Linked DNA regions of Homo sapiens: all the other regions are linked to region 7. Evidence: promoter capture Hi-C in 16 types of primary human blood cells and fetal thymus (Javierre and others, 2016). All regions are on one chromosome and are shown on one strand. The core of a region is centred on a gene start or on the middle of the fragment in contact, and the rest is flanking DNA. Distances in the headings are between cores, read along the strand shown. Region 1 overlaps TJP2 (tight junction protein 2). Region 2 overlaps TJP2 (tight junction protein 2). Region 3 overlaps PGM5 (phosphoglucomutase 5). Region 4 overlaps PIP5K1B (phosphatidylinositol-4-phosphate 5-kinase type 1 beta). Region 5 has its middle 51 kb from the start of FXN. Region 6 holds the start of LOC101927069 (a long non-coding RNA gene). Region 7 holds the start of PIP5K1B (phosphatidylinositol-4-phosphate 5-kinase type 1 beta).

Evidence for each region. The method cuts DNA at HindIII sites, captures the fragments that hold promoters and counts their contacts. A CHiCAGO score of 5 or more calls a contact.
Region 1: a fragment that was not itself captured here is called in contact with the fragment with the promoter of PIP5K1B in region 7 in 3 of 17 cell types (erythroblasts, megakaryocytes and monocytes); the score reaches 14.2 in erythroblasts.
Region 2: a fragment that was not itself captured here is called in contact with the fragment with the promoter of PIP5K1B in region 7 in 1 of 17 cell types (erythroblasts); the score reaches 5.6 in erythroblasts.
Region 3: a contact is called between a fragment that was not itself captured here and the fragment with the promoter of PIP5K1B in region 7, in 1 of 17 cell types (neutrophils). The highest score is 5.1, in neutrophils.
Region 4: a fragment that was not itself captured here is called in contact with the fragment with the promoter of PIP5K1B in region 7 in 16 of 17 cell types (megakaryocytes, erythroblasts, total B cells and 13 more); the score reaches 40.2 in megakaryocytes.
Region 5: a contact is called between a fragment that was not itself captured here and the fragment with the promoter of PIP5K1B in region 7, in 1 of 17 cell types (erythroblasts). The highest score is 5.3, in erythroblasts.
Region 6: a fragment that was not itself captured here is called in contact with the fragment with the promoter of PIP5K1B in region 7 in 15 of 17 cell types (naive B cells, megakaryocytes, total B cells and 12 more); the score reaches 25.1 in naive B cells.

What each region holds. Positions count from the first base shown.
Region 1 is chr9:69,184,894-69,188,329 of GRCh38, reverse strand. All of the region lies in intron 1 of TJP2 (tight junction protein 2), which reads right to left. Among named protein-coding and RNA genes, the nearest start is that of TJP2, 12 kb to the right of the region's middle. The HindIII fragment of the contact is 1,080 bases long and covers 795-1,874 here.
Region 2 is chr9:69,208,165-69,211,181 of GRCh38, reverse strand. The region is part of intron 1 of TJP2 (tight junction protein 2); the gene reads right to left. Among named protein-coding and RNA genes, the nearest start is that of TJP2, 35 kb to the right of the region's middle. The HindIII fragment of the contact is 7,567 bases long and covers 1-3,017 here.
Region 3 is chr9:68,429,727-68,433,144 of GRCh38, reverse strand. All of the region lies in intron 6 of PGM5 (phosphoglucomutase 5), which reads right to left. Among named protein-coding and RNA genes, the nearest start is that of PGM5-AS1, 74 kb to the right of the region's middle. The HindIII fragment of the contact is 3,981 bases long and covers 1-3,418 here.
Region 4 is chr9:68,995,283-68,998,285 of GRCh38, reverse strand. The region is part of intron 15 of PIP5K1B (phosphatidylinositol-4-phosphate 5-kinase type 1 beta); the gene reads right to left. Among named protein-coding and RNA genes, the nearest start is that of PRKACG, 17 kb to the left of the region's middle. The HindIII fragment of the contact is 1,813 bases long and covers 521-2,333 here.
Region 5 is chr9:69,084,943-69,087,977 of GRCh38, reverse strand. No RefSeq gene overlaps it. Among named protein-coding and RNA genes, the nearest start is that of FXN, 51 kb to the right of the region's middle. The HindIII fragment of the contact is 1,127 bases long and covers 1,123-2,249 here.
Region 6 is chr9:68,975,314-68,978,334 of GRCh38, reverse strand. The region is part of intron 14 of PIP5K1B (phosphatidylinositol-4-phosphate 5-kinase type 1 beta); the gene reads right to left. It overlaps LOC101927069 (a long non-coding RNA gene), which reads left to right and starts at 2,494. Exons shown (of 3, transcript NR_110647.1): 1 at 2,494-2,671. The HindIII fragment of the contact is 1,160 bases long and covers 1,120-2,279 here.
Region 7 is chr9:68,703,217-68,706,587 of GRCh38, reverse strand. PIP5K1B (phosphatidylinositol-4-phosphate 5-kinase type 1 beta) reads right to left here and starts at 1,348. Exons shown (of 16, transcript NM_003558.4): 1 at 826-1,348. RefSeq lists enhancers at 131-220, 909-1,834 and a silencer at 971-1,490. The HindIII fragment of the contact is 6,803 bases long and covers 1-3,371 here.

The DNA of each region.
Region 1 (3,436 bases), core at 85-2,584, 480 kb before region 7:
TAGGGTTAACATTTACTCCTAGTTGACTGGGAAAAGTCAGTGAGATCTACACCAAGGGCCTACCACCACATCAGCCCTGTGATCTCCTTCCCCAGCTTTGCTAGAGAAAAGCTAACCAAACGTGGTCTTACAGCAAAACAAACCACACCTTACTTTGTCTCCTGGGCTCCGTCATGGTTAGGCATTCAACAGATCAGAAGTTCCACTTAACACATGGGAACTGAGCTGGAGTGAGCCAGCCCCCAACGCACCCCATAATATTTGTAGAACTCAAGAACACATTCTCAGAGCAGTTCTATAAGCTCCGCTAATGCACATTTTGGACTTCTCAGTCCAATAACACAAAGCCACAGGTTCAGAAGATCTCCATATTTCCTGCAAAGTGCTTTTTTCAGGAGGCAAGGAATACTCTAAGAAAAGGGAGAGAATACACCCCCAGTGTGATAAACGTGTGCTTATCACATTCCAGTCTTTTGAGACTCACCTTCTCCCTTCTCTTCCTTTCACCTTCCCCTATTTACTGAGCAACTACTCTACATCATGCCTACCTAGGAATGCAAAGAACCAGCCCTGCTCTCAAGAGCTCACAATCAACACCCCCTAATGTTAAAACTGACCACCCATCCAACAAGAGGTGGAATCCAGGCCAGTGGGTTTAGACCCTCACTGAAAACACACCGATCTTCTGAAAGGATAAACCCATGCACTGAAGCCTGTATCTAATTGAGGACATTTTTTACAGTTCACTGTTTCCCAGCATTCCTTTTGATTACGCTCGTCTCAGTCAAAAAGCTTATGTTGCTTATGTTGCTGAAAGATAAAGGACTATCCATGTAGCAGACTACACTAACATAGTCAGTATATCTCAAATTGGAACAGACGAAAGAGACAGAGAAACAGAAATGACAGCATCCCAGTTTTGACAACACAAATATAAAGCCAGCCGACTAAGTCTGGTAACAGTCTGGAGTGGTATGTTACAGCTGTTTTTTCAGGACAGTTCATTGCTGTGATATAATCCAATCAGGTCAACATTTATATTTAATCATCCAATCACACTCAAAGACAATTCAGAACAACAATGCAATTGTTATTTGGAGCTTACTACTAAGCCAAATGAGATGTTTTTCCCCCACATAGACATGTGTATGTTCCTTCTGTTCTATTAATAGGCGAGAGAGATTCTTTCAGGCCGTGCATGCTGACTGCAAATATTCTTTCTGTGGTAGTAAAAAGGAGCAAAAATATTGCCAATTTATGTTTCCTGGAAAAGTACATCACAAACATGATACTTAGAAGTTTAGCAATGCCTGAACTAATTTTATTTTTAGCCCAGTCCTGTTTCCCCACATTTCTCAGCAGAAACGCCCACAGAGAAATTTATCTTTAAAAACCAGGTGACTAACAAATTCCTGATTGTGGGGAGGTTCCAGGGACTAAGGAGGAAACTGATGGAATTTCAGCTGCCTCTCTTAACTTTCCCTAACTTTTGTGTAATATTAGTTCACTTGACAATTTATTTCTAAAGAATATTGTCAAATCAAAATACACGAAGCAACACCACGGGTCCCTTCCTCCAGCTGTAACACTACTAGCTGAAATATTTATAGATATTTGGGTCAGAAATACATACATTGATTTAAAACCAAGCATTTTTGCCAAAAGGAGTGAATTAGGTCAATGCCCATAAGAAGCTCCCCTCTGGCTCTATTTTCCAGTCTCCAAACAGTGAAGCCCTTTGTGCATTGTGTATCAGCCACTGTAAACTGTTTGGACATCCATTGTTAGCCCTGGCCGACTAAAAGTCTGGAGAAAAAGAGATAAAACCAAATTCTGTCAATATATTTCTAGCACATTCATTTACTAAGCAAGCTTTACAAACAGCCAGCTCACTTGAACTGCTAAACCAGTGGCTGAAATAGTCACTGGTTATACTTATCTTTCCATTTCGAATATTTGCCTTCCTTATCACTTCAAATTTCTCTGCAAGGAGCCTTCGGAAGTAGTACTACAGAAGTATGCCTAAAACGTTAATCAATACATCTTGACCACTCCATTTCTAGCAAATTACCTTAGGGCAGTAATAGTAGGGTCCCTGGAAAGTAAAATAGGTCTGGGTTATAGGAAAAAGTATTTGAAGGAGGAAAAAATTCACATTCTAAAGTTAAGAAAAACTCGGTTCTTTCCACATGTGACATCATTACAGACAGGCTGTTGCCAACATTGGTTCAAGATTTTTAAATGTCTTAAAACCACTACATTGGCCGGGCGCGGCGGCTCACACCTGTAATCCCAGCACTTTGGGAGGCCAAGGCAGGCGGATCATGAGGTCAGGAGATCGAGGCCATCCTGGCTAACACGGTGAAACCCCATCTCTACTAAAAAATACAAAAAATTAGCCAGGCGCAACCGAGACTCCGTCTCCAAAAAAAGAAAAAAAAAAAAAAAGGACTACATTATAGCTCATGTTTCATAAAATAAACTTATAATAGGACAGACACTTCTGCCAGCTGTTTTGGTAGACTACAGTGTTCCCTCCGCGAGAGATTTGAGGTACAAAATATGATAAAAATCTTCCATCTCATTTATCAGAACACAAAGGAAGCTAAAGACAGGGAAAAAAGTAACCCCATCTATCAGCCAGATTTATATATTACCTTTTATTTTATTAATAATAAAGTGGAATGACTTTAAAAAGAAAACACTCATTAGGTTCCATAAAATTATACATTAAAGCAGCAACTCTTAGAATTAAGTCACCTTTCAGCTCTACATTAACTTACAGACTTGAAAACTAATTTCTCAAGCTTATACCTTTAGAAAAGTACCTAGAATCACAGAGCAATAGATACAGAATCTGGAAGGCCCTTCCAGAAAAACAACACCTTATGTGACACGGAGCTCTTACAGTGGCATCCATGTGACTATAAAGTGAAAAGAATGAACATCCGTTACAGAAATCAGTCTGGGTCGGACACGGTGGCTCACGCCTATAATCCCAGCACTTTGGGAGGCCAAGGCAGGCAGATCACCTGAGGTCAGGAGTTCGAGACCAGCCTGGCCAACATGGTGAAACCCTGCCTCTACTAAAAATACAAAAATTAGCCGGGTGTGGTGGCACCCACCTGTAATCCCAGCTACTCGGGAGGCTGAGGCAGGAGAATTGCTTGAATCCGGGAGGCAGAGGTCGCAGTAAGCTGAGATTGCACCACTGCATTCCAGCCTGGGCAACACAGCAAGACTCTGTCTCAAAAAAAAAAAAAAAAGAAATCAGTCTGCTGCCCAAGCGTGGTGACTCACGCCTATAATCCTAGCACTTCGGGAGGCCGAGGTAGGAGGATCGCCTGAGCCCAGGAGTTCAAGGCCCACCTGGGCAACATAGACAGACCTCATCTCTACAAAATATTTAAAAATTAGCCAGGTATGGTGGCGCATG
Region 2 (3,017 bases), core at 177-2,676, 500 kb before region 7:
TATTTTAGTAGAGATGGGGCTTCACCATGTTGATCAGGCTGGTCTCAAACTCCTGACCTTGTGATCCACCTGCCTCGGCCTCCCAAAGTGCTGGGATTACAGGCATGAGCCACCAAGCCACCCGGACTATGTGTTTATGTTTTAAGAAATTAGAAGAGGGCTGGGTGCAGTGGCTCACGTCTGTATTTCCAGCACTCAGGCTGAAGCGAGAGGATCGCTTGAGCCTAGGAGTTCAAGGGCAGCCTGTGCAACATAGTGAGACCCCATCTCTACAAAAAATTTTTAAAGTTAGCCAGGCATGGTGGCACATGCCATAGTCCCAGCTACTCAGGAGGCTGAGGCGGGGTGATCAGTTGAGTGCAGGAGTTTACGACCAACCTGAGCAACATAGTGAGACCCCATCTGTATATTTAATAAGAAAAAAAAAAAAAAAAAAAAAGAACTCAAAATACCTGAAAAAGGCCAGAAGAAGAGATCTGTGCTACCAGCAATCCTGGGACTGGGTGGTGAATGGGGCCTGGGGTGCCAGGGACGCAAGCAGCCCAAAAGTGCAAGATTTAGATTAAATGAAGGCCCATCAACACAAGGAAATATGTAAACATTCCAAAAGATTATTATCTAAATTATGTAAAACTCCCCAATTACTTAAAGTCTGTTCACTGTGACGACTGTTCTTCAATTTTAAAAAATAAAAGTGAATTTTCAGGTGAAATTTTTGTATCCTACTCATCTTTGTCCCATTATCTGCTACAACAGTGTCTGGCACACAGAGTAGGCACTCAAAGTTTTTTCTTTTTAATACATCTAGAGATGGATACACTATTCATTCATCATTCAATTAATATAACTGAAGCACTGACTGCTGCTACTTTTTTTTTTTTTGGGGGGGGGGGGGGACGGGGTCTCACTCTGTCACCCAGGCTGGAATGCAGGGGTGTGATCTAGGTTCACTGCAACCTCTGCCTCCTGGGTTCAAGTGATTCGCATACCTCAGCCTCCCGAGTAGCTGGGATTACAGTTGTGCGCCACCACACCCAGCTCATTTTTTTGTATTTTTGGTAGAGACACGGTTTCACCATGTTGGCCAGGCTCATCTCAAACTCCTGACCTCAAATGGTCCGCCTGCCTTAGCCTCCCAAAATGCCGGGATTACAGGTGTGAGACACCGTGCCCAGCCTACAAATTTTCTTAAAGAAAGTTTGTATCAAATTCGTGGCTCTCTGCTTCTTTGATAGCATACGTGAGGTGGGTGAACTAAAAACTCAGGTGCTCATGGTCTGACTTTCTAGATGTGCTCTATAGCCATACCTCTCTGGAATTCTGCATGTGTCTAAAACAGCATTTTCCAATATGTGGAAGCACAATAAATTTTCCAATATTTTAATGAAGTTGTACATATTTGTTAAAAAGTTTTTTTGTTTTTTTTTTTTGAGATGGAGTTTTGCTCCAGCCCAGGCTGGAGTGCAATGGCACGATCTGGGCTCACTGCAACCTCCGCCTCCTGGGTTCTAGCGATTCTCCTGCCTCAGCCTCCCGAGTAGTTGGGATTACAGGCATGCGCCACCACACCCAGCTAATTTTTGTATTTTTAGTAGAGACAGGGTTTCACCATGCTGGTCAGGCTGGTCTCAAACTCCCAACCTTAGATGATCCGCCCACCTCGGCCTCCCAAAGCGCTGGGATTACAGGTGTGAGCCACTACGCCCGGCCAAAAAGTTTTCTTAAATGGAAACAGAAAGCAGAAACCGGGTCGGGCGTGATGGTTCACGCCTATAATCCCAACACTTTGGGAGGCCAAGGCAGGTGGATCACTTGGGGCCAGGAGTTCAAGACCAGCCTGGCCAACATGGTGAAACCCTATCTCTACCAAAAACACAAAAAATTAGCCGGGCGTGGTGGCGCATATCTGTAGTCCCAGCTACTTGGGAGGCTGAAGCAAGAGAATCACTTGAACCTGGGAGGTGGAGGTTGCAATGAGCTGAGATTGCGCCACTGCACTCCAGAGTGAGACTCTGTCTCAAAAAAAATAAAGAAAGAAAAGAAAAAGAAAGCAGACACTCAACTGAACTCCTGCAGTAAGTCAGAATTGGTTGCCCTTTTCCATTTCCATAGAACACCTTACTAACTCCTTGCCAACTTCAGTTTTAGATGTGGCCTTAGTAAAACTAAGCCACTACCACCCAGAAATGACCTTATGAGCATGCCCACTTCTCCAAGCTCATCTTCTCAATGCCTTCTTGTACCTTAAAGCTGTCAAATTTCAACAAAGTGAATTAATCTAGAAGTTGTGGTAAAATAAATATATTTGCCAACTCTTCTTTGGATATAGTTATAGCCCCATGAATTAAGGGGGAAAAAAAATTACATGACATCCTCCCCACAAAACTTACTTTAAAATTATCAGGAAAAAAAACTAACTGGGACTATGACAATCATCCCCAGGATTGGGCAATGCTACATACCAAAAAAATGTTGAATATCCCAAGGAGCTGTGCTATTATAGAGAATATTTTTATGAGTACATTACTTTTAAAATACATTTCTATTTTGGAATTTAAAACTATAAACTCTTCAAAGTTTTGGATTTAAATTTGTTTATCATTTAGCCAAATAAATGAGTTCCTGCAAAATTTTATTTTTTAAATGTGGCTCAAGTAGAATGAATCTGGCTTTTGAAATTCACAGCCCTTCAATAATGGGATGCTACCATCTTTAAGTGTCCTGTGATGCCTGCAAGCGTAATTTAAATTAAATTTGTCAGAGAGACGATTAATCTCCTACCACTACCACCACCAATCAGACCTTGCTATTAACTTGCCTGGTGCCTGAAACCAATCAGATTGCGAGGCTTCTTCTTACCTATGGTTAACGGGTAATAAAATTAACTATTAGCTACTTAACATAATATTCAAAGAATATATGCTCTGCTAAGCCAAGTGATAAAGAGAAAATCTTAATTGTAAAGGAAGGGAACTAGAGCAAAAATAAATTTTAGTAGCTCTGTTGAACATTAAAAA
Region 3 (3,418 bases), core at 437-2,936, 270 kb after region 7:
TAAAAATTTGAAAGCACACTCTTTGACCTAGAAACTACAAGTTTAGAAATCAATAGTATAGAAACACTAAGGCAGGTGTGTCAAAAATATACATAGCAGGGTATTCACTGCAGTATTGTATATATAGTGCAAAATTGGAAGCAACCTATATATTGAACAATAGGGGAATTATTGTGTACAAGATTCCATCATGGTATAACGGAATAAAATAACTGTTTAAAAAAATATGGTTCATTTAGGCCAGGCGCAGTGGCTCGTGCCTTTAATCCCAGCACTTTGGGAGGTCAAGGCAGGCGGATCACCTGAGGTCAGGAGTTCGATACCAGCCTGGCCAACATGGAGAAACCCCATTTCTACTAAAAATACCAAAAATTAGCCAGGTGTGGTGGCAGGCACCTGTAATCCCAGCTACTCGGGAAGATGAGACAGGAGAATGGCTTGAACCCAGGAGGCAGAGGTTGCAGTGAGCCGAGATTGCACCACTGCCCTCCAGCCTGGGTAACAGAGTGAGATACTGTCTCAAAAAAAAAATGGTACATTTAAATATTCTGACATGGATATTCATGACAAACTGTAAATTGAAAAAAGCAAATTTCAGATTAAAGTGTAAATATAACGTCAATTTTTTTTTTTGTTTAAAACATGGTCAGGCACAATGGCTCACGCCTGTAATCTCACCACTTTCAGAGGCTGAGGTGGGCCGATCACTTGAGACCATGAGTTCAAGATCAGCCTGGCCAACATGGCAAAACCCTGTCTCTACAAAACATACAAAAATTTGCTGGGTGTGGTGGCGCTTGCCTGTGTAATCCAGCTACTTGGGTTGCTGAGACAGGAGAATTGCTGGAACCCAGGAGGCAGAGGTTGCAGTGACCTGAGATGGCACCACTACACTCCAGCCTGGGCAACAGAGCAAGACTTTGTCTCAAAAAAAAAAAATTAAAAAATAAAAACAAATAAATAAAAAACAACATAAAGGTGTGTGTGGGGATGTATGCACATACAATGTCTGAAAAGTCACATACCACTGTTAATAGTGATTCTGTATAGGAAGAGGGATTTTTTTAAAAACAAAAAACAACACAACAAAAAGAACCCCACAAGAATTATAAAACGACCCATTTCCTGAGGCATAAATGCAAGAAAGCCTCCTGGTCTGCAAACATCTCACACTCTGTAAAAATTCCAGGAGTAGATTGGAGGGCTGAGGTTTTGACACTGCATTGATCTTGATCACCCACCCCCATCCCCACCCCTAATACTTTGCTGTGAGAAATGATGTTCTTTCCATCTTACATGAAGTGCTATTCAAACCCAAGTTTCATTGTCCCCAGCAATCCCCTCTCAGACAGCTCCCTCCTTTAGCTACTCCTAGAGAGAAATTCTGGAAAATCTTGGCACAGAGTCCTAATAAATCCCCCATCCTTATAAGATGGAATAGACTCCAACTCTTAAAAGTGTATTTTGCCCTTCTAGCTGTTATAAGATCATTCTAGAAGAAGACTGTGATTTTATCTCCTGAGGTTTCTCTGAGGGCACACTCCATTGCCACAGCCTTCAGAACTGTGGACAGGTTGCCTCTTTTGGAAAGTTCAACAAAGTAAACTAAGAACTTTAATAGCTGCATTAAATCCTGGTGTTCTTTGTAAAAATGCCTTGGTGACAGTAATATTACAAAAAAATATTACTATCTGAGTATTTGCAGCCTCACTCTGAACCCTCAAGGCCTCCACTTCCCAGTAAAGATAATTTTGTCTTTGCCTGATCAGCTTCTCTTCTTTGTCTACCCCAACTTGACTCCTGGGTTCCTGTGATACAGAAACAGGAGAATGCGAAGAAAGAGGTAGGACTAGAAAAACAGAATACAAGAGGCAAAGAAAAGTGGACAGTGTTGGCGAGTAGTGGGAAGGCGGCAGTGGAGAACAAGGGCTCCAGATGGGCTGTGACAGTGAGGAAGTGGAGTTGGGGGAACCTTAGACGATGTGGCTAGGATCTGTAAATTGAATCTCTTTTAATGCGTTCTGAGGACTGCAAGCAAAACTTAGAGTTTCATTTGCTTTTGGTTGTTTCTTTGAATGTTACACTGCCCTGAAACTTGGTGACATAAGGCCCAGGATTTATTCAGGTTATAATATATTCTAGAGGAAAAGGTGGGTATGACACCTGTATGACTGTCTTTAAAGAGACCAAGGCACAAAATTGGTTGCTAAGGACTATTTATTGAGAAAATATAAATAGTTGATGCATGTTATGATGAATACTCTAATTACAAAAGACAGCTGAGATTCAAAGAAAGAACCATGTAACAAAATAAACTTCTAACTAGAAAATTACAATCACTGAAAGTTTTCAAACTCTGTTGTTCTTTTTTATCATAACAGTGACAAGACATGGAAAATTAAAATGCATATACTTAGGGGTATATGATTTCCCTTACTGAGATTTCCCTTACTATGGAAAGTTGAAGCCATTTTTATGCTTGGAAAAAAATGGCTGCAAGCCTCCAAATCAGAAACGGTATCCAGAGAAACCTGATTCCGGAAAAGTTGATGGATGCCTTTAATGTCCTTGGGCCTGGAGAAAATTAGGATGAAATTAGGAAAGAGGAAAATTTGAAAGTCAGTGAGGAAAGTACAAGGATTTACAAAAATACCATTCTAATTTTACTTGAAATTATTTACCTTTTATGTGAATGGTATAATTACAACCAATGATACATCCATAAGTTGAGTTTACTTTAACAGAATAAACATTGTGGAAAGCGAAAGCATGAAATGCACTCATTTCGCTCTCCATGAGACCCAGAGCTGTTTAGGCCCCAAGGCCATAGCTCACGCACATCCACTGCAGGCATAAAAATTTAGAAATAAAATAAAAACAGAAACAATCACTCTACGCTGGACTGAAAAACTCAACCTGCAGAATGATGACAAATATCCCATTGTTAAATTTCAAAACCATAGAGGAGACAAAGGAAACCATGTATTTTTAAAATTATTAATAGTTGAAAGCTATTTCAATTATGTTTATTTTTTCAGAGTATTTCTACATTTCAAATGATATATCCAACAGCAGAATTTTTAAAATTAGGTTTTGCATTTCAAACAAAGCTCAAAGATGTTGAGAAAATAAAGGAAACAAAACCAACCTCAGATACCCAGATACTGTTCCTTCTTCCAGCAACACAAAAACTGAGTCTTATTCAAGATCACTGGCATTCTTCCCTGTGCGACAGAGGACTGTGAGGTTCAAGTCCATACATGGCTGTCATTCAAAGGATGAGCATGGAAGAGTGGCTAAGAAGAAAACTGTTGTAAATCGCATCAGTGGAGATTATCTCTAAGAAGGATTTCCATATAGTGATAGCTGTTAAACTCCAGGATGGAGGCCTGAGAAAATCTGTGGCCTGTTCTCCAGA
Region 4 (3,003 bases), core at 178-2,677, 290 kb before region 7:
GTCGAATTCGAGGCCAGCCTGGCCAACATGGGGAAACCTCATCTCTATTCAGCTAGGCATGGTGGTGTGAGTCTGTAGTCCCAGCTACTTGGGAGGCTGAGGCAGGAGAGTCACTAGAATCTGGAAGGTGGAGGTTGCAGTGAGCCAAGATTGCACCACTGCACTTCTGCCTGGGCAACAGAGATATCCTGTCTGAAAAACAAAAAAAAAAAAGAAAAGAAAAAAGAAAAAAAGAAAAAAAGAAAGTAGAAATCAAGCTAGCCTGCAAGCCAAGATTCACTGTAAAGCTAGGACCTAACAGAAAAAAAAAAAGAAAAAAAGCTACTGCAGCCCTGCAAACTGTCATTCAATTGCTAACTCTGAGCCTAATTGAACTGGAAAGCCAGTGTGCCTTTATAACTCCAGCTGGAATTCCCTACGCTAATCCTTAAACAGCAGTTTAATGCTGTTTGTTTTTTAAAAAAATCCTATGGGTGACCTCCTAATCTAGACTGACAGGTTGCCTCATTAATTTGAAGCTTGCGTCACTTTTATTTCAAGAATGGGAATAACTTGTAGATGCTGTGAGACTCGGGCAATGGGAGGTCCATTTTCTCAGCTCTTCCACATGTCTTAGAAATATTATTTGTCAATAACTTAGGGGCCAAGCATTTCTGGAAACAAACAAGGGCCCTAATTTATCCTTTCCAAAATCTCTTCACTTCTCAACAATGTGATCACCTGGCAGAAGGAAAGGGGCTTCTGGTCAAATGCCTTCTACACCAAACGCAGTGTTTGTCTTTTCTCCTTCCTACTCTGCTCTCACTAAAATCTACCAAAAACCCGAGCAGCATCTTTGGTTGGTAGGGGATCGAGTTCTCTCCTGAGAAGGAATAAGAAATGCCACTGTTTCAAATAAACACCCCTTGAAGCAGCGGATACTGGCTCCAACAAGGAATGATTAAAGAGACCCAATATAAGTCATTAACCTCAACGCTGAGGGATTCAAATCCAGAAATGCAGTTTCTTTTGCCAAAAAAGTTCCACTGAATTTTCTAAGACCCCTGTGACCTAATTTAAAGTGTTTTTCTTCTCTTTCTCACGCTTTTTCCATACATAATAGTATGATAAGCTGTTAATTCAATCATTTTCACTTCTCTGCCACCCTTCTTCCCATGATCAAAGAGTATTATTAACTACCCTGAAAACACATTAAATAATCAAGCCGTCCAACAGCTGCCCATCAGAGCGCTAATCTCCAATACTGGCGTGGCTAAAAAACAGCTTAACTGTTTCTTCTCCTTTGCTCACAGCTATTTTTGTATTTCAAACAGCCATTTTGCAGAGAAGCAAAACTGGATGAAAGTACATATTATTGAGAGGATGTTAATATGGAAAGTGTAAGGGCATAACCTTGGGTATGAATAGTAGAAGCAAGGAAGTCACTGTTTTCTGGCAGCCATCTTTCAAACTTCTATATTATTAAAAAAGCAATCCCATTATCTCCCACTTACCCAGCCATTCCCAGCTAGTCATAAAAGGATATTCTCTCCCAATACACTTTTCAGCAGAAATGGCTTTTTGTTGGTTGTTCCTCTTTCCACGAAAACCAAATTGCATTCTACATCAGGCAAAGAAGCCGCCTTAGAAACGGAAATAACAGCCACTGTGACAGCATCCGGTGCCTTAGAATATCTGGGACTATTTACAAAGTAGAATCTTGCTCTATTATGAAGACTGCGTGATTGCCCATTTTAAATCAATACAGCCTGCTCATCTCTGTGTATTCTTTTAAATACCCTAATCTGTGTCATCAACTCAAAATTCAATGAAAAACACATCTTTGGTCACTGGATAAAAATCATCTTAGAAAACACTTCCCTTGATTTGAATATTTGAAAATGAGTCAAATAGCTTGGGACTCTACAGTGTGAAGGTGAATGGCCTTTAAAAAGCCATGCAGAATAACTAGATACATAAAATCTGAACTAAATGTCTCACTAAGGATGATGGAACAATTAGCTGCCTTTTCAACTCACCAATCCTTTTTAATTTCATGTTGAGTTACAGGAAAAAGCAGGAGAGCTAGCCTAATGCACACACACATAATGTGTGGATGGATCCTTAAAAGGATATTTCATATGTTATCTGGTGGGCATACGTCATTTGGGTTTAAACTTATGTATTTTTACACAAAGGTAAATGGTATTATACATTACTGTATAAATAAAAGCACTAGGGGATTAGGCTACAACTACTAATAGAGAAATGCTATCTTAAAGGAGAAGAAGCATTACAAGAGAAACCTGACCACGTTTGGTGACAACACTGTACAGGAAGTCACTAGAGAAGCTTCCAACTGCCCTTCAGATAAAGATGGCTGTGATTCAGAGCACTCAAATTATGTCAAAAGGAAAAAAGAGACAATGCAAAGGCAAGATTGGTTTTCCTTTCTTGTGCTTTTCTTTTCCATTTTCTTTCTTCCTTTTTTTTTTTTTTTTGAGACGGAGTTTTGCTCTTGTTGCCCAGGCTGGAGTGCAATGGCGCAATCTTGGCTCACCGCAACCTCTGCCTCCTGGGTTCAAGCCATTCTCCTGCCTCAGCCTCCTGAGTAGCTGGGATTACAGGCATGCACCACCACGCCTAGCTAATTTTGTAGTTTTAGTAGAGATAGGGTTTCTCCATGTTGGTCAGGCTGGTCTCGAATTCCCGACCTCAGGTGATCTGCCCGCCTCGGCCTCCCAAAGTGCTGGGATTACAGGCATGAGCCACTGTGCCCGGCCTCCATTTGCTTTTTCATATGGAGATGCAAATGAAAATACTGAAGGGAGGGCAATGAGCTGTACCCTTTCTGATCTAGAAGAGCACGCAAAACAAAAAATAAAATTTTCCAGCATGAAAACACATTCTGGAATTACAAGTTAATGGTGCAGGACTTTCTAGATGTACTGCCATAAAATTTAAGTTTAAAGAATGTGAAAGTTTATGGTACAGGAGGTGATTAAACAGCAAAATTTGGAGAAA
Region 5 (3,035 bases), core at 437-2,936, 380 kb before region 7:
GGCAACAGAACAAGACTCTGAGAAGAAGAAGGAGAAGGAGAAGGAGAAGAAGAAGAAGAAGGACTCTGCAGGTGGCACACAAAATTAGATGAAAAGAATAAGGGGACCTTAAAGGGGGAAGAAAAAAATGGGAAGTCCAAATGGAGAAAGATTCCTTAGATAATAGCTAGGTGATGTTATGAGGGGTCCTTGAGGGTCTAGAACAGGTCTCTCCTGCCAAGGGGAGAAGCAGGATGGATTGCGGAGAGCTAGTAGGCCAGGAGAGTGCAGTGGTTCTCTTTAAAGAAAAATCTCAGGACCCTTTATATTCTTGAGTTATAGAGGACTCCATAGAGCTTTTGTTTGTGTGTTATATCTATCCTTTTAATCATATTTAAAATTAAAACTGAGAAATTTTGAAAATGTTCATCTGTTCATTAATTTAGAAATAATAGCTGGGTGTGGTGACTCATGCCTGTGGTCCCAGCACTTTGGAAGGCTGAGGCAAGAGGATCACTTGAGCTCAGGAGTTCGAGATCAACCTGGGCAATGTAGCAAAACCCTATCTCTACAAAAAATACAAAAAAAAAAAAAATTAGCCAGGCATGGTTGCATGCACTTGTACTCCCAACTACTCAGGAGGCTGAGATGGAGGATCGCTTGAGCCTGGGAGTGCGAGACTACAGTGAGCCGTGATCATGCCACTGTATTCCAGCCTGGGGGACAGAGTGGGACCTTGTCTCAAAAAAGAAAAGAAAAAAGACATAACAATCATAAACTCACTTGTTTATATGGTTAAAAGAAAACCTTAGACAAATTAAATTTAACCGAGTTTAATTGAACAGTTTGAGAATTGGGCAGCCTCCTCAGCCAGAGTAGGTTCAGAGACTCCAGCACAGCCACGTGGTGGAAGAACATTTATGGACAGAGACAGAAAAGTGGCGTACAGAAAACAGAAGTGAGGTATAGAAACAGCCAGATTGTTTACAGCTCAATATTTGCCTTATTTGAAAGCAGTGTCAAGAGTTGACCTCCTTTGATTGGCCAAAATCCAATGTTTGTCACAAGAGTAGTTCACAGTCTTGTTTACACATCTGGGTAGGCTACAATTCACTAAGTACAGAGAAACCTTTAGGTCAAGCTTAAACTATATAAGGAGGCAGCTTTAGGCTAAATTTGATTTAACAATATTAATGACATATTTATGATAAATAACTATACTTTTGAAACAAAACATATTTGGTGTGAAGAATGGGATCATTGCAGGACTTTTCCTTAGTTCAGCTAAAGAGAAGGTTCTTGTCTATCCCACAGCCACAAAAATTTAGGCTTGCAGATGGTTTAAAGGGTGAGTAAAGCAGGGTTTTATTAAGTGAAAAGGGGAAATAAAGGGATGAGGGGAACAGGGATCCTCTGCAAGGCCAGAGTCTCCTGCTACAGTGCTTCCCACCAGGCTGCTAGAATCCCAGGTTCACATAGGAAGAGGAGGCGCCAGGCTCCTCCCTGCTGCAAACTCCCAAGGCTCCACCCTAGTAGGCAGGCTGGTTGGAGTTTCTCCAGGGACCCCCTCCCACCTGGCTGTCAAATAATTATTTTAGAGTTTTATAAAACTCTGAGAAATAAAAATGAAATCCTAAGTCCCCCAGCTGACTAAACGGATGCACCACCTCTTGGCCAAGGGGACCCCAGAGAAACCTTGAAAACTGAGTTCTTGCCATGATGTGTTGTTATACCCTCTCCATTGCTAAACGCCATTAGGATTTCCTTCCTACAGGTTAAACAGAAACCAGCCCTTTGGAAAGACGAGCTGCACCGCTGATATCAACCAATGGTCTGACACTGCCCCTTCCTTTTGCAGTTTCTGCACAACTAACCAGCATTCCTTCCTGATAACAGACTGCCCACAATGGAGTGGTTCTGGCCAGTTTACAGAGGATGTGCAGTGAGGGTTTCTGTGTCCTCTGTTTCACCTTTTGATATCAGAGGACAGAAAACTCCACCCTCTGATCATGCTAATGCTGCCATTTTTTGCACACGCGTCCCATGGAGAGGCATGAAGCTCAATTGAGCATGTGCATGTTTCTCCTTTCATGAATATTCATGACTGTAGTTTATTGAATATGTATATTTGGCCATCCTATTCAGCATAAATGCCCATCTTATTCTTCTGACCCTCAGTGTCTGTTTTTGGCTTCTGGCCAGAGACTACATTTCTTAGCCTGTCAGAATGGCCACCCTGCAGGCTGCAATCTTTTATGAGAAATGAAGCTTTTCTTTCCAAATTTATGAATCTCAGAATTCTTCAGCTGACAATTGTAATGTTTGGCTTAATAGAAAACAGCTGGATTCTTCTACTTGCCTCTTCATTCCATCTGTTGCAATATGTTGTTTTCATTGGAGTATATGAAGAAAACCCAGCTTAAAGAGTTATGTAGTTGGAAAAAGGAGAACATTACATATCTCTGAAGAGATCTGGGGGACCCAGATGTTCACTTTTTTTTTTTTTTTTTTTTTGAGACAGAATCTTGCTTTGTTACCCAGGCTGGAGTGCAGTGGCATGATCTTGGCTCACTTCAACCTCCACCTCACGGGCTCAAGTGATTCTCCTGCCTCAGCCTCCTGAGTAGCTGGGATTACAGGTGTGCGCCACCACGCCCAGCTAATTTTTGTATTTTTAGTAGAGACGAGGTTTCACCATGTTGGCCAGGCTGGTCTCAAACTCCTGACCTCAAGTGAACCACCCGCCTCAGCCTCCCAAAGTGCTGGGATTACAGGCATGAGTCGCCTCTTCACTTTGAAAGCTGTTGGGATGAAGAAGCTCTTCTCATACTCTAGCAACTCCATATGACATCTGTAATGATGGGTGAAAATGTGTAACTGAAACTTAATGCATAAATAATATTTTATAAATTTGTATTCAGTGAGCTATCAATAAAATGTTTTCTTTTTAAAGTTTTGAATTTATTGTTTATAATTTACCAAATAATAAACATATGTTGTTTAGCAAGTTGTTTTTTTGTTTTTGTTTTTGTTTTTTTTTTTGAGACAGAGTGTTG
Region 6 (3,021 bases), core at 450-2,949, 270 kb before region 7:
CTGAACTCATAAAAGCAGAGACTAGAATGATAGTTACTGGTGGAAAGAAGAGGAAGTGAGGAGGTGTTGGCCAAAATGTATGCCAGATGAGGAAGTTCTGGAGATCTGAGGCACAGTGTGGTGACCATAGTTAATAATCACGTATTGTGTACTTGAGATTTGCTAGAAGAGTTGATCTTAAGGGTTCTCACCACACAAAAGATATAACCACGTGAGGTGATAGATATGTTAATTGGCTTGATGTGGTAATCATTTTACAATGTATCACCTTAAATATATATAATTTTTATTTGTTAAGTATACCTCAATAAAGCTGGGGAAAAACCCTAAAAACCCCCAAAAGTTGAGGAGATATATATTAATAATAAATGTTAAAAAGAAGCCAATAGGCCAGGCGCGGTGGCTCACGCCTGTAATCCCAGCACTTTGGGAGGCCAAGGTGGGTGGATCACAAGGTCAGGAGTTCGAGACCAGCCTGGGGTGAAACCACATCTCTACTAAAAATACAAAAAATTAGCTGGGTGTGGTGGTACACACCTGTAATCCCAGCTACTCGGGAGGCTGAGGCAGGAGAATCGCTTCAACCTGGGAGGCAGAGGTTCCAGTGAGCCGAGACCATGCCACTGTACCCCAGCCTGGACAACAGAGCGAGACTCCGTCTCGAAAAAAAAAAAAAAAAGAAGCCAATAATTATATGATTATGAAATATATAAATGCAAAAAAATACGCCACCAAAATAACATCCAAGACAACAACAACAGCAAACCAAAATAAAAACCTTCACCATCAAAGTAATTTCTCTTTCTTTTTTTGAGACAAAGTCTTGCTCTATCACCCAGGCTGGAGTGCAGTAGCCCAATCTCAGCTCACTGCAACCTCTGCCTCCCGGGTTCAAGCGATGTTTGTGCCTCAGCCTCCCAGGTAGCTGGGATTACAGGCAAGCACCACCACACCTGGCTAATTTTTTATATTTTTAGTAGAGATGGGATTTCCCCAGGTTGGCCAGGCTAGTCTCCAACTCCCAACCTCAGGTGATCTGCTCGCCTTGGCCTCCCAAAGTGCTGGGATTACAGCCGTGAGCCACCATGCTAGGCCCATCAAAGTAATTTCTATTAAGCTTCACAATACTGGATGGCTTCTGCTCTCTAGGACAATGTGTTTTACTGTTCATATGTGGCAGAGTCTAACATTATAATTAGTTCCCTTCCTAGAGCTCATATCCATGGAATTAAGAGAGAATATATTTAGGTAGATCCCAGAGGTGAGGCTTAGGTAGATTTAAAAAATGGCAGTATGGGCCATCCATGAAACATTCCCAGGTAGACAGCACACATTGAAAACAGGGTTGACTGTGTTCTCTAGCTAGAGAAAAGCACCATGAAGGCAACAGGAATTGGGACCTTTTGAATCATAGGGCAGGGGTCCCCAACCCCCAGGCCATAGACTGTTACTGGTCTGTGGCCCGCTAGGAACCAGGCCGCACAGCAGGAGGTGAGTGGTGGGTGAGTGAGCATTACTGCCTAAGCTCTGCCTTAGGCAGTAATCAGTGGTGGCATTAGATTCTCAAAGGAGCATGAACTCCATTGTGAACTGCTCATGAGAGGGATCTAGGTTTTGTGTTTCTCATGAGAATCTAATGCCTGATGATCTGAGGCAGAACAGTTTCATTCTGAAACCATCCCTACTCTGCCGTCCAATCCATGGAAAAATTGTCTTCCACAAAACTGGTCCCTGGTGCCAAAAGGGTTGGGGACCACTGTCATAGGGCACCGATGGCCCCTGTGGCTCAGAGGAGCAGTACAATATGTGAAAGAAGGAGCTACAGCAAGAGGCAGGGTAGTGGGGTTGTGGTAGCAACATGGCACTAAGTAGCTGTGAGTACTGTATTTGGGTAAGACATTGAATTTTCCTGTACTCCACAGTTCCCTTCTCTGTAAAAATCAGGAGTTTGGATTTGATCAGGTCTTGCTAGCTTCCAAAAGTTTTGATTCTTAGCCTTAGTTGGTCTTCTCTAACTAAAGTTTGAGATCAGAGTGGCATACTGGAAATAAAATATGCTGAATTGGAAATGCCTTTTGCTGTGTAAGCTAATGGAACCAATAAAGGTTTAAGACACAGTGAACAGGAAACAATTCCTGGCCTAAGCACTATTATTTCTCTGTACTACACCTCAATGGCATAATTCCCATGGATAGTGGTTTGCTGCCAGATACTCTGCAATCTCTATACTTGCTGCTGTCAGATTCAAACAAACAAAAATTACTCAGAAAAACAAAGCTTTATTCAGAGCCATGTTGTTATGGGTTGAATTGCATCTCCCTAAAATTCATATGTTTAAGTCCTAGCCCCCAGTACCTCAGAATGTGACCCTATTTGGGAATGAGTTTGTTGCAGACATAATTAGTTAAGATGAGGTCATAGTGGAATAGGGTGTGTCCTACTTCGGTATGACTGGTGTTCTTATAAAAAGGGGAAGTTTGGACATAGAGACACAAATACACAAGGAAAGCTCCATGGAAGATAAAGGCAGAGATTTACAAGCCAAGGAATGTCAAAGACGGCCAGCACACCACCAGAAGCTAGCAGAGAGGTATGGAACAGATTCTTCTTCACAACCTCAGAGGGAAAACCCTGCTGATACCTGGATTTCAAACTCCTGGCCTCCAGAACGGTGAGACAAATTTCTGTTGTTTAAGCCATCCAGTTCATGGTACTTTGTAAGGGCAGCTTAGCAAACTAATACTGGTGGTATAAATGCCTGAAGGACAAGCTGGCCTCGGCAAATAGGCTGACTCACTGACTTTCCCTCCATAACACCACCTTGGGAAAAAAGAACTTCTCACTGACATGCATTCATAAATAAACACCTTAACTTTTAGGAAGTTTATATTTTAGGCAACTGAAAAAAAGTACAATTCATATTTCTTGCTAAACACTACATTTTCTGTCTTTAAAAAGTAAGACGTGGCTGGGTGCAGTGGCTCATGCCTGTAATCCCAGCACTTTGGGAGGCTAAGGCAG
Region 7 (3,371 bases), core at 99-2,598:
GTTCGGAGCCCTGATTTCAGTAGATTCGATGAAAGAATTAATCAATCTACCCAAATAACTTCTCCGGAATAGGTTTCTACTCAGCCACGCTGGGCACCAGACAAGAGAGCTGGGGGTTGGGGGGGATAAGAAATGACAACACGCTCATCTGCATAGATGCCAGATAAGCAGACATTTGTTTTCTTCTGTTCTGGCGACTCCTGGCACCGGCATAGTAAATCAAACCCGGGCATTCTCCCTCCCCAGTGCCCCTACACTCCCAGCCCCTGCCCCAGATGTTGAAGCGTCACGTTGACCAGGCTGGGGGAGAAAGCCTGGGAAACGCAGAAGTCTGTTGCTGCATTTAGACTGGAACCATACCGCACCTGTTCAATCCGGCACCAGCGCCAGAAATGAGCAGAACACCAACTCGCAAGCCCCTCTTGAGATACCAGGGCGCCTAACAAGTTCACCGCTGTTTCGTACCGGGGGAGGGTGGTGGGAGACCTTTCCTTCCGCTGCCAAACTCTGCAGGTTCCCCGGAAAAGGGGAGAGTACTCCTATTTAAGTGAACCCAGAGTGATCTCCGAGTGTCACTGCGGCCCCGGGGATCCGGGTGACGAGCGGGTGGGTGTCCGTTGGGAGCGCGCAGCTGTGGCCCCCGCGGAACGAAGGTCCGCTTCGGTGGCCACGGGCGCCCTCTCCACGTCACCCCCAGCACAACGCAGACAGGCAAAGTGGAAGGGTAGAGAGACCGACGGGTTTCAGCAGAGATGCAGAGCCCCTAAGCGCAAGCCCCTCAGAAGGGTCTAGTGGGAAGGGGCCGGGGACGCACAGGAAACTTACCTCACCCGGGCAGCATTCGGGTGCCTCCGCTACCAAGACCAGTTGCGCCACAGTCTGCAAGTTATCGGGACGTTGTCGCTTCCCCACAGCGAAGGGAGAGCAGTGCAGGCGAGGGGCGGGAGGGGCGGGAGGGGCGGGAGGGCGGAGGGGGCGGCGGGCGGGGCCGGGGCCGGGGGCAACGCTGAGGGCGGGCAGGTGCCGGGGCTGGAGCCGCGGGGCCAAACTCGCTCCGGACGCGCCTTGGCGGGGGCGCGCGGCTACGAGTGTGCAGTGCGCGCGCGCCGCGGCGAGTGTGTGTGTCCCCGCTTTCCCCTTCCTTCCCCGCCGGTCCTCCGGCCAGACGGAGCAGCGAGCGGCCGCCAAAGCCCAGCAGCTCCGAGCGGCTCCACTGCCGGGCGCAGCCTCGCCGCGGCGCGTTCGGGGACCGGGAACCGGGGACCGAGAGGAGCAGCAGCGGCGCCCGCCGGGCTCGGGCGCGGGTTCCCGCTTGGTGCGCGCCGGAGTCGGAGCGAGGCGCAGAGAGAGCCGGCTGCGCGGCGGCTGCCGCGGCTGGGGAGGCTGCAGGCCCCGCCTGCCGGCCGCCCAGGCTCTTCCCCTTTTCTCTCCACCCACTTGCCCCATCCCCGCAAGCCCTGCAGCGAAGGCAGACCGGTTTGCAGCACCTGCCGCAACAGCGGCCGGAGCTTCAGCCGCAGTGGGCTGGGCGTCTCAGCCGGTGTGTGGGGACCGGGCGCCTGTCCCGCCGCCGCTGGCCCAGACTGAGAGCGGGGTTGGGGTGGGCCCCTGGAATTGGCGGGTGCCTCCAAGACTCCAGGGGTTCCCGGCCGTTCTCAGCGTCTTGAAGCCCTGCGAAACAGGGCTGTGGGGATAGGGCGTCCCCTTTCCCCAGGCCACAGAACTCAGCTACGCCTGGTCGCCCGCCTGCTAGACTCTGCCTGAGGCGGCGAAGCCGGCACTTGAGCGCAGGCGCCCCCTTCACGAGGAAGGGACAGGCCAGGATTCCAAGGCGTTGGTTGCTCCCATTCTAAGGACAGCAGGTGTTCCCAGCAAGTAAGACCTACCCAACAGGTAGGGGTAGGCTGGCGAGGAGGTCCTAGGAGAGAGAAGCTGGGGGATGTCATGGGAAAGCGCTGTGACGGGGCTGAGGGCCAATTCCTACTGATAGCGCTTAGTGGGCTGGGGGCACTTGCAACGTCACCTGATGTCAGTCTAGCTGCGAAGAGGGTAGGGGTCAGATCTAAAGGACTCCTTTGGGAAAATGCTATCATGAAAGCTAAAGCTAAATTCACTTAATAGGAACCAAAAGGTAGCGGATCCTTCGCGGCTGAATTGAAGCAAATGGTATTTTTCAGCCTCATCACTTCCTTCCACTTACCCTTCTTTACCAAAAACAACGCCGGTGGAAAACGTGGGATACATTCTGTCTGGGGAATAACAACATTTCATGATCCTTATCTTCAGAGATCTCTGGCTTCCAGTTTCTGTTTGAAGGATACTCCCTTAGTTCTCTGCAAATGAACACCTCTTTTCAGTTTTGTAATCTCTTTGTTTCTCTCACCCCCCACCTTGAGTGAGTCTGCTATGGTTTAATATCAGCCTTGAATCAAGTGCAATAATTTCTTGATAACAGAAGTATCTATTTTTTTTTAGCTTTACTGAGCCATAATTGACAAATAAAACAAATATCTGTTATTCTTCAGCTGTTTTCCCAGCCTGCTTCTTGCAGATGTGGCTGGCCATTACTGAGAGATTTAAGGTATGGTTTGTTTAGAACCCTGTGACTTGGGTCTGGTTTTCTCCTGGCATCCTAGACGCTTCACAGCTCAGAGCAGGAGGAACATACATCTAGTCCAGCCCTCCCGCTTTACAGATGAGGAAACTAAGGTCTCAAGACATTAAGTAACCCAAGGACCAGAACACAGTTTCCCTGACTCTCAATCCCTGAACAATAACTAGCAGAAATATTGTATTAACAAAGTTCAAGATGGGGTGGATAGACCAGTGGTGGAGGACAGAAGAACCGATCAAAGAACCGTTCATCTGACTGGTACGAATCACTGTATAGGGGGCAGCATCATACCGCTGTAACTAGCAGGCTAGTTTGGAATCTGGGAATGGTAATCCCAGTCTCTCCTTTTCCTGCTTCTCAGACTTCAGCTATGAAATCCAGAGTGGAAAATGAATTTGCCTCCCAGGGAGGCGGTGGTAAGTGAAAGTGCAAAGTCAGTTTCTGGTAATGCAGGGGAGATGAAGACAGGTAAAGCCAAACATTGGATCAAAAGTGATCACGCATTACGTATAAATGTCCAAATACATGTATCCATACACATGACCCTTTTCCCATTAATGAGCCTGGTATTGAGCCACTTCTGTAAAGCCCAAAAGCAAACAGCCTTAGGTTTTCAGAGAGAAGTGTCCAACCAGACTGCCCACTGGCTATTTAGAGAGCTAACTTTATGAAGCAGGATTCTAAGGAACTCTACCAAGAGCCTTACGATTGCATTATTACTGTGAATTGATTAATGGAATGAATGACCATGTAGTAT